2 separate regions of the Homo sapiens genome follow, and region 2 is linked to region 1. Evidence: promoter capture Hi-C in 16 types of primary human blood cells and fetal thymus (Javierre and others, 2016). All regions are on one chromosome and are shown on one strand. Each heading gives the region's core, a stretch centred on a gene start or on the middle of the fragment in contact. The rest is flanking DNA. Distances are from core to core; before and after follow the strand shown.

Evidence for each region. The method cuts DNA at HindIII sites, captures the fragments that hold promoters and counts their contacts. A CHiCAGO score of 5 or more calls a contact.
Region 2: the fragment with the promoter of POLG here is called in contact with the fragment with the promoter of KLHL25 in region 1 in 1 of 17 cell types (monocytes); the score reaches 5.9 in monocytes.

The regions. Positions count from the first base shown.
Region 1 is chr15:85,793,287-85,796,264 of GRCh38, reverse strand. KLHL25 (kelch like family member 25) reads left to right here and starts at 1,340. Exons shown (of 3, transcript NM_022480.4): 1 at 1,340-1,499. RefSeq lists silencers at 1,150-1,219, 1,370-1,669. The HindIII fragment of the contact is 2,328 bases long and covers 1-2,244 here.
Region 2 is chr15:89,333,574-89,336,719 of GRCh38, reverse strand. It overlaps POLG (DNA polymerase gamma, catalytic subunit), which reads left to right and starts at 1,896. Exons shown (of 23, transcript NM_002693.3): 1 at 1,896-2,047; 2 at 2,807-3,146. The coding sequence starts at 2,966. POLGARF (POLG alternative reading frame) reads left to right here and starts at 2,911. Exons shown (of 2, transcript NM_001430120.1): 1 at 2,911-3,146. The coding sequence starts at 2,911. It overlaps POLG-DT (POLG divergent transcript), which reads right to left and starts at 2,233. Exons shown (of 2, transcript NR_186332.1): 1 at 1,866-2,233; 2 at 559-1,533. It overlaps TRR-TCG1-1 (tRNA-Arg (anticodon TCG) 1-1), which reads right to left and starts at 1,647; the gene lies at 1,575-1,647. RefSeq lists enhancers at 688-737, 1,078-1,147, 1,158-1,257, 2,127-2,628 and a silencer at 1,838-2,437. The HindIII fragment of the contact is 8,583 bases long and covers 1-3,146 here.

The DNA of each region.
Region 1 (2,978 bases), core at 91-2,590:
ATCTGTACTGAGCACTTACTACATGCCAGGCCTATTCCATATGTTATCTTAATCTTTCCCATACCCCTGCAAGAAAGGTTTTAGAATCCTCTTCACCAGTAAGAACCAGACACCAGAGAGTCTGAGCCATCTGCTTCAGTCCTACCCAGCTCTTGAGGGGCAGGGCGGGGCTTCAAACCCAGAACATCAAGCTGTTTCCCAAAAATGCCTTCCCTGGTGGTATCTTCTCATCATCTCCCAGTCTTTTAACCCTGGCATATCTGTCCTGTCTAAGCAGCTTTCTACCCAGGGGCTCTATTTCCCAGGTTCCACTAGTCACAATCCTATCCCCTCTCCCAAATCTTTGTACACTTTCTTAGACCTTCCTTGCACCTCCCACCTCCACCTCCGTCAGGGTGACCTCTGCTTCCTGGGAATTTCCCCGCCCCAGGCTTGGCTCTTTCGTTCTTATCACTTTCTATGCTTTACCTTTTGTATCCTTAAGCAACCTACTTGAATTATCGATTTTCATTGGGAGGGAGAAAAGAGAGGACATTTATTGCGCACTCATTTGTCTGGGAATTTGTCTCCTTTAATCCCCCAAATAATCCGATGAGGAGTTTTTATCTGCCGCTTTACGGATGAGATTGGACACACACAGTAAGCTGAAGTAGTAGTCAGGAGGGAAAAGGACGAAGAATCACAAACCGTTCTCCCCCTCCAAGATGAGTGCATGGTGTGGGCGTCCAGGAAACGTTCCTGGAAGAAATTATTGGATGGATGGATGAATGAATGAATGAACGAACATTTAAAGGCTGGCTTACGAAAGGAGTTTAGTGAGAAATGACACAGAGAGGAGAGCTGAAATACTCCAAAAAATACAGATTTCAAGTACAGGTGGGGTTTGGAGGCTGCAGAAAGTCCCAAACATTCAAACAAGCCCAGAGTGAAAGACAGGGTTTCATTAACACTCGGGCAACTACTAGTGTGGCTCTGAAGAGTCTAAAGAGATCTACAACACTTGTGACCCGAACACAAAAGAGGCATATGCAATCTACAGTGCTCCCTCTGGAAAGCTCTAGAACACCGTCGCGTTTTGTTCCCAAACTTGGGCGGCGGGGTTGGGCAGGCGCCTGTCTCTTTAAGAATCTGGTCGAAGTCCTTTTCCTCGCCCCGCCCCGCCCCCGGTCCCCCCCCCTCCCCGCCCCCGGCCCCCCACCCCCCGGTGCCGGCGCGGCCTGGGGCCCACCCCCTTCTTTTCTGCGGCTGCACTGAAGGGTTCGGCTGCCCATCCGTCACAGAGGCGATGCCTCTGATTGGCTGCTGCTCTTCGGGCCGGGAGGCGGGGCGGGAAGGCCGGAGAAACTAGTTTGTTGGCGGCGCCTAGGCTGTATCGCAGCGAGAGCGTTTTTGCCTGTGGAGAGCCGGCCGACGGGAGCCGCGGCGGAGCCTGTTGAGCTCGCGCGGGCTGCCGGGAGTGGTCTCTGAGGCGGCGGCGGCGGCGGGGATCGTCTCCGGCAGTGAGTATCCAGGCCGGGCGGGGACGCCGTGCTCTGGCCGCAGCACCCGCGCCCCCGCTCCCTGCGCTGGGGACTCACCACCCCGGGCCGGGCCGGGACCAAGCGCTCGGAGCCCCCGCGGGACTACGTGTCCCGGGAGGGGGCCCCGCGGCTGGGGCCGGGGCCCTGGGACAATGGTGGGGAGCGGCGGCCGGCCGGCACCCCGCGGCTCCGCGAGGGAATTCGCCGAGAGCTCTGCGCGAGGGAATGAATTGTTTGGCAAATGGATGTTGCGCGCGGGAGCCGCTACTCTTTCCCCAGGGAGTGGTTGATTCATTGAGTCCGCAGACTCTTTTTTTTAAAAAATTACTATTGATCCTGGAAAGAGAGACTGCTTGTCTTTGAGGACGCGAGCGGCGATGCCCCGCGCCTTGGACGCCCAGGCCGGATGGCTGCCTGCCTGGCGCAGAGCGAGGGCCCGGGGTTCACAAGGGGAGGGTTTGCGCGGGCCTGGCCGCGGAGCCCCGAGCCGTTCACGTTCCGCCTGCCAGGGTCCCTCGTTTCGGTTTGCAGAACTGTCCAGCGGCAGAGAAAGGTCGCACTCAAAGGCACACCCACCTGTCCACCTGGGTGGCGGCCAGACTGGCAGGTCCAGAGCAAGCCCTCTAGCCTGACTCTAATTACCACACTTGCCCTGGCTCCGAGACACACCGCGCGATGTTACGCCCCCACTCCCCCTGTCTCTTTCGTAGTTGCTTTAGAAGCTTTTCTCTTGGGGGATTGTGCCCGGGAGATACCAGATACTTTTTTTGTGTTGCTGCTCTAAGCCCCCAAAGTGCATTCCCATTGTCTTTGAACAAAGAAACATCTCTCTAGAGGCCTGACCCAACGAACTGTGGGTGAGGGGGCGGACCCAGGCCCCTGCAGATTTAATCTGGACGCTCTTGGGTCCTGCTGGATCCCGGTGAATTTGACCTTGGGGAAGGCGGGCTGGACTTTGACTCTCCTCGGTAGTCAGGGCAGAGAATGCCAGGTGTCTGGACCATTTGGTTCCACTCTATCGGCCCAATAGAGAGAGGAAGGGAAGGAAGTTAGCAGTAGCACCAGGAGAGGAGGCAGGATTCCACGGTCTGTATCCTGGACCAGATTCCAGTGACCGTTATGGGGCCAAGCCCTCTGGGACCCTGGGTCCCAGTCTCCCCATTCATAGGAGGAACTGATGCTCAGTGTGCTGATCTGAGCTGTGAGGATTCCTGGCATGTTGGTGAAGGCTTGCGTGGGGGTCTGGGGAAGAGTAGGACACAAAGTCTACCCCACCTCAGGGTCCATTTGGTGTCCCAAGACCGGAGGCTCTTGGGTCCACAAGCTGTGCCTGTGAAGGTTGACGTAGTCAGTCTTTTTCCGGCCTGGCAGCTATTTCAGTTTTGAGTCATTTGTCAGGCAGTGACTCCAGGGTGGTTGATAAAAGGGAGGTAGAAATGGAAGACACCTTCATCCTGG
Region 2 (3,146 bases), core at 647-3,146, 3.5 Mb before region 1:
CTCCCAAAGTGCTGGGATTACAGGCGTGAGCCACTGAACCTGGCCTAGAGTAGTGTTTCTGTTTTTAATTTTTTTCTGTGAAATATGTTTTATTAATTTTTATTTCAATAGGGGTACAGGCAGTTTTTGGTTATATGGAAGAATAGTGTTTTTAAGCACATAAAACATGAAGGATTACAAAGGACACCAAAGGTATTCAAATATTAGGACAAATAGGTAAACTTATTAACTAACAGGATCTAGTGGCAGTCTAGTAACCCCTGTTATTTTGAAGTACAGATAAGTGCAAACAAATTTTGAAAAATGTGCAGCACTTGTAATGCGTTATGAAAATATCTGTGGTTGCTGGAGGGGACAAAGTCACAGGCACTGTTAATACCACTGTGGCTGACAGCCTATGCTCATAATTGGAGGAAATGCCAAGTATCAGTAGGCGGTTAGAAGAAACAAGATGAAAATGTTTTCCCCATTCAGGGACTCCCTGATTTAAGCTGAGAGCCTCTCCTTCCAGTATTTTGTAAAAGTCAACAGTTATGTGAAAAAAAAAAAAAAAACAGATGAATTTCTGATTGATTGTATTTTTTTGGCAAAACAAAAAAATCACAAACATTAAAACATTGTGTATATTAAGTACATCTAGAAAAGTGTATGCAAAATATTTCATATTTAAATAGAAGGGACCAGGGCTCAATGCTGCTTGGCCCGGGGCTTCTCTCTACCTCTCCACGTGGCGGGAGCAGGTGAGGGTCGGCATCAGCCCGCAGGGCCGGCGGAGGATTGTTTCCCTGCACCCCACTCCTTAAAAACGCGAAAGTCAACTTCTGTAGTCCGTTCACGGTGTCCTGGGATCCACGCTGGACGGTGGCGGCCGACTTTCAGCTTGACCTGAATTTTATTCCTAATCAGCTGTGTGATCTCGGTTGGTCCCAAACGTCTCTGAGCCTCCCTTTCATCTGTGCAGCTGGGCCTCCAGACCCCAACCCCCAGGCGGTGCTTAATCACGTAGACCTTATTCTGCGTGCACTTTACCACAGTTCACCAACCACCGAGCGCTGAGAGCTGTTGAAGCACCTGGAGCAACACAAGACGGATGCGGAGACTGGAAACAGCTGGGGAAGGGGACAAGCTCCAGCCGCGCTGTGGGCCGGAGGCTAGCATCTGCGGGCAAATTCAGGTTCAACGGAAGGCAACATTTTTACCCCTCAGAATTGCTCTGGACGAGGAGGCAGCACCGGATGGGCGAGGGAGGGAGCCTCGCTTTGGCTGCGAGCCCCAACTCTTGCCAACCATCAATTGAGTATAAATTGAGATTTCTGTACAGGATGCCCCTCCCTCTCCACTTTCCTCCACCTGCGTCGGGGTGCGAGAGACCTGGTACATTTTAGAAATGTGCCTCCGCTGAGACACGTAGGCGGGCAATCTCGCAGGGACTTGCTGGGCGTGGTTACTTCCGCGGATCTTGGCGTTCCCACATCTTTGAAGTGCGGTGGGAATCGGCGGCGACTACGTTCACATTGTCCCAATACTTCGTTCCTGAGGGAGGAATAAACTAAAAGTTAATCATAACCTCCCTTCGACCGCGGCAGGACTCGAACCTGCAATCTTCTGATCCGAAGTCAGACGCCTTATCCATTAGGCCACGCGGCCCGTCGGTTGTTACCGTCTCTTGAGCAACTTATAAAAACGTCACCTCCGCCCACCAGCTAGCTCGGGACCAATCCACCTGCTCCTTGAGAAGGGGAGGTTGGCCTTTGGTTCGCGCGTTCCGCAGGGAGAGCCCACCCAGAAGTCCCCCTTCTCCCCCCGCGGGCGGACCGCTCCATTGGCGGCCCTCCTATTGGTCGCGCTGGGAGTCTCCCGCTTGCCTCTCGGGTAGCCGCGGGACCTAGCTGGGTGCAGACGGGAAGTTGCGGCTGCCAGCGAAGCGGACCGGCCGGGTGGAGGCCACACGCTACCCCGAGGCTGCGTAGGCCGCGCGAAGGGGGACGCCGTGCCGTGGGCCTGGGGTCGGGGGAGCAGCAGACCGGGAAGCACCGTGAGGACCGAGGTTTCCGGCGGGGTCGGCGGCGGGGAGGCCGGGTCGCTGAGCGACGGCGCGGCCCCTCCCTCTCCAGTCAGGGAGCGAGGCCCGGAGCAGGGCGGCGGCTAGTCCCAGGGCGCACCGCGGCGCCTCTGCCGGGCGCAGGCGGGCGGCGGGGCGCACGGGGGTGGCCGCCGACTCCTCCTGCAGGACGCTCTCGGCCGGGTGGGCCGTGGTCCGGGTGTGGGTGTGGGTCCCGGGGGACGGCGGCCCACCCTGCGGGTTCGAATCCGGGCGCTGGCACCTCTCGACGCTAGGCCCGCGCCGGTCGCGGTAATGGCAGCCACCATTTGCCGAGCGCTTGCCAAGAGCAGGGCCGCACGACATAGGCGCCCTGTGTCCCCCAGACAGCAGCCCGGTGTGACAGGCAGAATCCGTAATCCCATTTTACAGAATAGGATATCAGGGCCTAAGGAGCTTTGCCCAAGGTCACACAGCTCGAGAGAGCCAGAAGCGGGGTTCAAAACCGCGTCGCCCTACTCCAGATACTGCTCTCTTACTCGCTGCCCTCGGCTTCCCCACGTGGGTTCACTGACGAAGTTGCGTGGACCCCGGTTCCCCCAGGAGGGGTATTGACGTTTCCCAAGTTTTGAGGCTTAACGGAAAATGCAACTGAAGCGCCTGGCACAGTGTTGGGGACGCAGTAAATGCTCAAGGAATGATGATTATGGATACACCTATTACATATATGGTAAAATAACGCTTTATATCATCTGTCTCCTTTAGGATTTGGGGTGGAAGGCAGGCATGGTCAAACCCATTTCACTGACAGGAGAGCAGAGACAGGACGTGTCTCTCTCCACGTCTTCCAGCCAGTAAAAGAAGCCAAGCTGGAGCCCAAAGCCAGGTGTTCTGACTCCCAGCGTGGGGGTCCCTGCACCAACCATGAGCCGCCTGCTCTGGAGGAAGGTGGCCGGCGCCACCGTCGGGCCAGGGCCGGTTCCAGCTCCGGGGCGCTGGGTCTCCAGCTCCGTCCCCGCGTCCGACCCCAGCGACGGGCAGCGGCGGCGGCAGCAGCAGCAGCAGCAGCAGCAGCAGCAGCAACAGCAGCCTCAGCAGCCGCAAG